2 separate regions of the Homo sapiens genome follow, and region 1 is linked to region 2. Evidence: promoter capture Hi-C in human tissues and cell types (Jung and others, 2019). All regions are on one chromosome and are shown on one strand. The core of a region is centred on a gene start or on the middle of the fragment in contact, and the rest is flanking DNA. Distances in the headings are between cores, read along the strand shown.

What was found. Contacts are between HindIII fragments. The study calls those that stand out against the background at their distance.
Region 1: a fragment that was not itself captured here is called in contact with the fragment with the promoter of CLVS2 in region 2 in 8 of the 25 tissues and cell types used here (aorta, bladder, heart left ventricle and 5 more).

What each region holds. Positions count from the first base shown.
Region 1 is chr6:122,952,017-122,956,590 of GRCh38, reverse strand. No RefSeq gene overlaps it. Among named protein-coding and RNA genes, the nearest start is that of CLVS2, 42 kb to the left of the region's middle. The HindIII fragment of the contact is 7,241 bases long and covers 1-4,574 here.
Region 2 is chr6:122,994,137-122,998,205 of GRCh38, reverse strand. CLVS2 (clavesin 2) reads right to left here and starts at 1,971. Exons shown (of 6, transcript NM_001010852.4): 1 at 1,460-1,971; 2 at 40-987. The coding sequence starts at 428. It overlaps LOC124901392 (a long non-coding RNA gene), which reads left to right and starts at 3,286. Exons shown (of 2, transcript XR_007059733.1): 1 at 3,286-3,624; 2 at 3,720-4,069. The HindIII fragment of the contact is 5,962 bases long and covers 1-4,069 here.

The DNA.
Region 1 (4,574 bases), core at 1,883-4,382, 43 kb after region 2:
CTTCCAAGTGTGCATCAGCTGTGGTAGTGTAGAGAGGGTCAGGTGGTGAGTGGCGCCATAGAGCTCCAAAGAAATTATGTCCATTGTCTTTGGCCACCAGTGTGGGTAGAGAAAGACCATCAGGCAGGGGCAAGGTAGGTGTGTCTAAGCTCAGATTTTTCTTGGGCAGGGCTTGATGCAGCTGCTGTGGGGGATGGGCAGGTGGTTCCCAGGTCAAAGGAGTTATGTTCCCAGTGAAATTCTGGCTGCCTCTGCTCTGTCACACAGATCACCAGTGAAGTGGGGGAAAGCTGGCAGCCACCGGCCTCACCCATGTCCCAGGCAGCCCACAGCCCAAAAGACCAGTCTCACTCCCATTGTACACCCCCAACAACACTGAGTTTATTTCCAGGCAGTCAGTGAGCAGAGGTGAGGAACGTGCCCCAGGTTACAGCCTCCCAGCTGAGAAAGCAAGCCAATTCACAGTTCTTTGACTATCCTATGGTGCCTGCAGCAGCATTTCACCTCCTTCGAAGGGTCTGTGGATTCCCTCTGCTTTCCTGGTATATTCCTGCAGTAATTGCAGGAGCAAAAGTTCATGATGTGAGCCTCCACACACTACTCTGTCCTTCCAAAAGGGAGTTGCAAGTTAGTCCTTCCTCTTAGCCACCACTTTTTTTTTCCTCTCTTAGCAATTTTCTTAGCATTAATTTTTATTTTTACTATATTGTGGCCTGAAATCGTGTCTGGTATCTTTTCTTTCTTTTTTTTATTTGCTGATGTTTCTTTTATGACCAATTTTGTGGTTGATTTTAGAGTATGTTCCAGGTGCAAATGAGAAGAATATAGGATTTTGTTGTTCTTTGGTGGAGAGTTCTGTAGATATATGTTAGGCCCATCTAGTCAAGTGTTCAGTTCAGGTCCTAAATATCTTTGTTAATTTTCTGCATCGATGATGTTTCTAATACTGTCAGTAGGGTATTGAGGTCTCTTACTATTATTGTGTAGTTATCTAAGTCTCTCCATAGGTCTCTAAGAACTTGCTTCATGAATTTGGATGCCTCTGTGTTGGGTGCATAAATATTAAGGATGGTCAAGTCTTTGTGCTGAATTTAACCCTTTACCATCATGTAATGCCCTTCCTTGTCTTTTTTGATGGTTGTTGATTTAAAGTCTGTTTTGTCTGGAAATAGAATAGCAACCTCTCCTTTTTTCTCTTTTCCATTTGCTTGGTATATTTTTCTTCATCCCTTTACTTTGAATCTATGGGTGTCATCGCATGTGAGATGGGTCTCTAGAAGACAGCATACAGTTGGGTCTTTCTTCTTTGTCTAACTTGCCATTCTATGCCTTTTATTTGAGGGCATTTAGCCCATTTATATTTAAGGTTAATATTGATATATGCAAATTTGATCGTGTCATCATGTTGTTAGCTTATTATGTGGATTTGATAGTGTGGTTGCTTTATAGTGTCAATGGACTATATACTTAAATATGTTTTTGTGGTAGCTGGTAATGGTCTTTCATTTCCATATTTAGCACCTCCTTAAGTACTTCTTGTAAGGCAGGTCTGATGGTAACAAATTTCCTTAGCATCTGCTTGTCTGAAAAGGATCTTATTTCTCCTTTACTTATGAAGCTAGTTTGGCTGGATATGAAATCCTTGGTTGGAATTTCTTTTCTTTAAAAATGCCTAATATAGAACCCCACTCTCTTCCAGCATTTTAGATTTCTGCTGAAAGTTCTGCTATTAGCTTGATGGATTTCCCTCTGTAGGTGACCTGCCCCTTTTCTCTAGCTGCCTTTAATATTTTTCTTTCATATTGACCTTGGAGAATCTAATGATTGTGTCTTGGGGATAGTTATCTTACATAGTATTTCACAGGGGTTCTCTGCATTTTCTGAATTTGAATGTTGGCCTCTCCAGTGAGGCTAGAGAAATTTTCATGGACCATAACCTCAAATATGTTTTCTAAGATGCTTGTTTACTCTCCCTCTTTTTTGGGGATGTCAATGAATCATATATTTGGTCTTTTTACATAATTCCATATTTCTTGGAATTTTTTTATTCTTTTTAAATTTTTTCTTTATTTTTGTCTGACTGAGTTAGTTCAAAGAACCAATCTTCAGAATCTGAGATTTTCCTCAGCTTAGTCTATTCTGCTGTTAAAACTTGTGACTGTATTATGAAATCCTTGTTGTGTGTTTTTCAGCTCTATCAGATCAGTTTGGTTATTTTTTATAATGGCCATTTTGTCTTTCAGCTCTTGTATTATTTTATTGTAATCCTTAGTTTCTTTGTATTGGATTTCTACTTTCTTCCAAAAGTCGATGATCTTCCTATACATATTCTGAATTTTGTATCTATCATTTCAGCCATTTCATCCTGGTTAAGAGCCCTTGTTATGGAAATGGTATGGTCATTTGGAGGAAAGAAAACACTCTGGCTTACTGAACTGCCAATGTTCTTGTGCTGGTTCTTTCTGATCTGTGTGGGCTGATGTTTCTTTAACAGTGGTGTAATTTGATTACAGTCAATTGACTTCTTTTCTGGATGAGCTGAGGCCCTAGTGGAGGTAGGGTGACTCATGGGGGATCTCCTGAGCCTAGATTGCAAAGATCCATGGAAGAAGTGTGAATCCCCAGGGACTCTCACTCATTGTTTCCTCACAGTCGGAGGCCTCCCCTAGCTCCACACCACTCCTGGTTGGTTAGTTGTCCAGTCTTGTTCTTCTCCCATTCTCTGTGGGTTGCTTTGCTTCCTTGATGAATCCCAATGTGTTCCTCTGGATGTTCCAGTTGAAGAGCAAGTGTTTACTCACCACTCTCTTCTCTCTATGAGAGCAGCACACGCTAGCTACTTCTAGTTGCCTGTCTTGGCCAGAATCTCTACTCTCTGTTTCTATGAGTTAAACTTTTTAGATTCTGCATATTAGATCATGCAGTATTTATCTTTCTGTGTCTGACTTATTTCACTTAGTGTAATGTCTTCTGTGTTCATCCATGTTGTCACAAGTGACAGGAAATCCTTCTTTTTTAAGGCTGAATATTCCATTGTATATACATACCACAATTTCTTCATTCAGTCATCCATCAATGGACACTTAGGTTGTTTCCATATTTTGGCTATTGTGAATAATGCTGCATTGAACATGAGAGGCAGATATCTTTTTAAGATACTAACTCACTACTCTACTTTCTGCTTCTATGAGTGTGATGATTTTAGATACTTCATATAAGTGGAAACATAGTGTTTGTACTTTTATGACTTTCTCATTTCTCTTATCATAATGTCTTCAAGGTTCATTTATGTTGTAGCATATGATAGAACATTTCTTTTTCAAGGCTGAATAATATTCTCTTATATGTATATACCACATTGTCTTTAACTATTCATCCATTGACACTTAGGTTGTTTTTACCATTTTGCCTTTGCGAATAATGCAGAATAAACATAGGAGGACAAATGCCCCTTTGAGATCCTGTTTTCAACTTTTTGTACAAGTATCCAGAAGTAGGGTTGCTGGATCATGTGGTAGTTTTATTTTTAACTTTTTGAGGAACTTTTGTACTGTTTTCCATAGAAGCGGCCCCATTTTGTATTCCCACCAACAGTGCACAAGTATTCCAATTTCTCCACATCCTTACCAACACTTGCTATTTTCTGGTTGTTGTTTCTGTTCTTCTTGTTTTTGAATAATTGCTATCCTAACAGGTGTAAAGCCATATCCCACTGTGGTTTTGATTCGCATTTCACCTATGATGAGTGCTGAGCATCTTTTTATATACCTGTTGACCACTTGTAAGTCTATTTTGAAAAAAAAAGTCCTTTAAACATTTAAAGGCTTTTTTATATTGAGTTGTGGAAGTTTCTCATATATTTTGGATATTAACCCATCTTTCCTTTGCTGTGCAGAAGCTTTTAGTTTAAAGTAGTCTCACGTGTCTATTTTTGCTTTTGTTGCCTGTGCTTTTGCTGCCTGTGCCTTTGCTGTCATAATCAAGAAAGCATTCCCAACACCGGTGTAATGAAGCTTAAGTTTTTAATCCAATTCGAGTTGATTTTGTGTATGGTGTAAGATAAGGGTTCAATTTTGTTCTGTTTCATGTGGATATCCAATTTTCCCAGAACCATTTATTGAAGTATTGGGTGCTACATATTTTTTTCATTGTGTAGTTTTGGCATGCTTCTCAAAGGTCATTTGACTATATATATGTGGGTTTCTTTCTGATCCCTCTATTTTGTTTCATTTGCCTAAATATCTGTATTTATGCTAGGGTCATACTGTTTATAATACTATGGATTTATAATGTGTTTTGAAGCCAGAAGTGGTGAGGTCTCCAGTTTTGTTCTTTCTCAAGATTGGTTTGGCTATTCAATATCCTTTGTTGTTTCATATGAATATGATAATTTTTTCTCTTTTGGAAAAAAATTTCATTGGGATTTTGACAGAGATTGCATTGAATAGATTTATAATATGTTTTAAAGTCAGGAAGTTTGAGGCCTCCAGTTTTGTTTTTCTTTCTCAAGATTGTTTTAATTATTTGATTGTTTGTGGTTTCATATGAATATGAGATAGAGATTGCATTAAATC
Region 2 (4,069 bases), core at 722-3,221:
AGAGTAAAAGGAGAATACAAGTTTGGATTTAGGATTTACCTGCTCTGATCCCAATTGGCAGCAAAAAGGACTAGAATCTTCCTGCCATAGTGGTCCAGATTGGCCAGGCCCCCAGGGAAGCCATCCTTCAGTGCCTGCTTGATGCCAGGGTCGGTGGCCTTAAAGCTTTTGAACATGTCCAGGTTCTGCTGCCGGTACTCAAAGTACTGCGCCAGGAGGCGGAAGGCCTCAAAGTGATGAAACTTCCTAGCCCGCAAGAAGCGTAAGATGAAGGCATCATCCGTGCGCAGAAAGCCAATGTCCGGCCTGGTGATGACCATATCCCTCACCTCCTGGATGTCCTGGTGCAGCGTGTCTGGGTTTTCATTGAGCTCCAGGCGAGCTTTCTCCAGGGTCTCAGGGGAGAGACCGGCTTGCAAATGAGTCATTGTTCTGCCTATCTCTGAGCTTTCCCTCAGAAGACCTTGTTGACTGTCCCAAAGCAAACCTGGTCCTTGCCACCACCAGACTCCAGCCCCCAGACCTCCTGCTGCCTGCTTCCTCTCCCCTACAGGAAATTAATAATCTTGGTGTCCAATCAAGTGCCCTGTTGCTCCTGCTTTCCCCCAGCAAAGCTGGGGGGGCCGGGGGGTGTAAACTTCTTCCTCTGCCCCCTAAAATACAACACCCTACTTTGGCTCCCTCTTTCCTTTCCTTTAAAGAGATGTGAACCCCTGAAGGGCTCCGCACTCCTCTTCTTGTCCTTTCTCTTTCCTAACAAATCACCCCTAATTCCACCTAGCACGGGTGTTTCTGATCTTGGTACTGTCCTCTTCTCTTCTCTTCCAAGATGTAACAAAAACAACCCCCACGCACATCTCAGCCCCTGCACTGTGAATGTTCCTGCGGTCCCTGCTGAAGGATACGCCTGCCAGGGGTGGCGATGGAAATTCTGATTAATAATAAGGTAGCTCTTCAGCGCTGAGCTCCAGGGCGGAGAGAGATCATCTTTGCCAGAAAGAAAAAGAGACAGAGAGAAAGAGGGGGGAGAAAGGAGATTATTTCTCCCTGTACTTATTCAAAGACGCTATTTTTAAAAGACAAATTTGTGTGATTTATTTAAGATTATTGTGATCCAATTAGGTGAAGACTCTGCAGATAGCGCACCTTCCCACCACCCCTCTGAGATACACCGTGATCTCATAAGGCACCAGCAGGGGTTCTGGTGGCGTTGGTACCAGCGTGGGCTCCCCCAACCCCACCCCCAACTTCTGCCTTCCTCTAGCCCTTCATTTCCACGGACTTGCCGCGGGGTTGGAGAAAAGGGGGGAGGGGGAGGGAGGGGACCGGGGATATCTCTGGGAATGCACATTTCAAAAACGAAGAGAAGGGGAGGACGTTGTGAAGAATAAAATAAAAATGTCCTTATCTTTTCTATAAAACCCCAAAGCAAGAAAGAAGAAAGAGCAGCCGCTCCTACCAGCAAACCCAGAGGCGGGGTCGCTAAGCAATGCGGCACTCCCTGGCATCCATCAGCCGCGGCTTCAGCAGCGGCGGCGGCGGCGACAGCGGCATCAACTCCTCTGGGCGGGATGGAAGGAGCAGAGAAGAGGGGTGGCGGCGGGGACCCGGGCCGAAGATGCGCTCGGGAGCAGCCGCGGCCACATCGTCCGCGGGCAGCCCGCAGCCTCTCCTAGCAGGAGGGGTGAGGATCGCAGGGCTAGGGCCACCGCTGTCCCAGGTTCTCGCCTGGCCCTGCCATTTTCGCCTTCGGGAGAGAAGGTGGGGAGGAGGACGCGAACGCCTGGATGGAGAAGGCCACTCGGGCGGCCACCGCCTTTGTGAGCCCTCCGGGAGCAGCCGGGGAGGTGGGCGCAGCGGGGCGGCTGCTGCGCGGCGCTGGCCTCTCCTGGGGCTCTCCCGAGCGGTCCGAGTCAGGGTTGCCCCACCGGGCTGCGGCGGCGGCTCCGGCTGCTGCTGCTGAAAGAGGACTCGGCTCAGCCCAACTCCTCTCTAATTATCCCAGCACAGATCTCGCTGCGACGTAAGCACTCACTCAGCTCGCGCGCGCGCTCCGCTCCTTTCCCTGCCTCGTTGGGGTAGGACGGCAATTTGGGTGGCATCGAAATATCCCGAGCCCTAAGTTTAGGCTGCTCTTCGTCCCCACTCCTCAGCAGGCTGCTGAGCGGGCGTCGCCGGGCCAGGCGGGGCAACCATGCTTTCCAGCCTCCCCACGCCCCTCTCTTCGCCCTTTGTGTGCAAGACCCCAGATCAGCCTGGAGAGTAGCTGTTGTAGACGGTAATTCACATTGACACGCATTTTCTCGTTCCTGTAGGAGGCAATTTTGATGTAGAAGGAGTACGGAAACATTCTGTACTTTTCGCATTTGTTGTAGACAGAGATATTTAATTTAGAAAACACCAGAGTGGTTCCAAGACAATGTACTGATGATTAAGCCTCCGGAGGAACTTATATGAATAGTTTTTCAACCAGTCTCCCTGCTAAATTTCTGTTGAAGAGGATGAAAATGAGCACTAGGGTAAATGATAATAAAAACATAATTCTCAAAGGAAGAAAAAAATAGGAACTTCACTCATATCTCATCATAAAGCAAATATTTCTGGAAACACATACCATCCTTCCTTCAGTTGTATGCATCTGTATATGAGAATCATTATAAATAAACAGAAGTCCTTGCGCTTAATATGACTATCTATGGATTTGAGGAAAAGGGATATTTTCTATTTTCAAAACACAGCACATATTACTGAGCGTGTTACTAAGAGCAACTTTTGACTTTATAAACTGTAGAATGGGGTCTTGAATTGAAGTTAATTCAATGCAACTAATATTTACTGAGTTCCACGAGGTGTGGGGCATTTTTCTGCATTCTGTGTATAGGAGGTGGTCTTGAAGATAAGCAAATTTTGTCATTTTCTTATCTTGACATTTCTTATCTTGTCATTTTCAATGTTGATGACTATGAGAACCCTCAAAATACAGGCACACTTGTTTTTGCTCTTCTCATGGCGATGGTGTTGATAAAAAGAAAGAAGGAAAAGGGTTGTATGGTAGAGCTAGAGCATTTATTAATTAAATTAATGCAAATTAATGTAGGAACCCGAATAAGACAATAAATTACACACACACACACACACACACACACAGTCATTATTGTCAAGGAATTTATGTTTTAAATGGGGAAGGCAGAAAATAAACCACTTAAGTGTGTGTATATGTGTGTTATATATATGCACTATATATAAGGTCCTTCTAGGATTTTAAGTGATTATGACTTTCTCAAGCATGCTGAATGCAATGTGAACTGTTAAATTTTTGGTTCTCATTTTAAAACATTTGAAAAAATCATTTTTTCTAATATTTTAGAGGTTGAAGAAAATTTATGTTTCGTATCAACTGTATGAAGAAGTTTTAGTCATCACCAACATGGAGAGACAATTCTCCCTGGATCCGTTGTGTTTCTACCTGTCTTATGACCAAGGCACTAATTGCCCTTTTTTCTAGACTGTCTTCTCAAGGGTATTTGTACAGTAAATAGTCTTGGAAGATATTGGAAGATAGAGATAGTACCTCCATCTGAAACAAAGCCTTGAAAGCTGTGATATCTCTCTCCTGACCAAAAGGTAGGCAAGCTTATTTGAATTCCCTAAACTCAGAGCTATTCTGCTGTAATGCCACCCATTGTTTATGCCAGTATCACTTGATCCTCTTTTCTTAGCTATCTGTGGGAATTAGAGCTCAGGGGACCAGTCAATGCAAGATATGCAGATGCTCATACTGCCCGCTATGCCTGAGTGACAAAATCCTTTATCTCGAAGCCAAGAGTTTTGCATCTTCCATCGGCATCCATGAAACTACAGCCAGCTAACTTGTTAGCCTGTAAGTGAAGTTAAAATTCAGATCTTTCACCTTGATGAAAAAACAGTTGTTTAATTTTGTTCTCTGAGATGGACATATTAGACTATATTTTTAAGGGAATTTATAAAATAAAATGTATTTTTTGGCCCAGCATATGTTATGACCAGTATTGAAGGTTGAAGGATGACATTTTTATTATTTATTATTTAC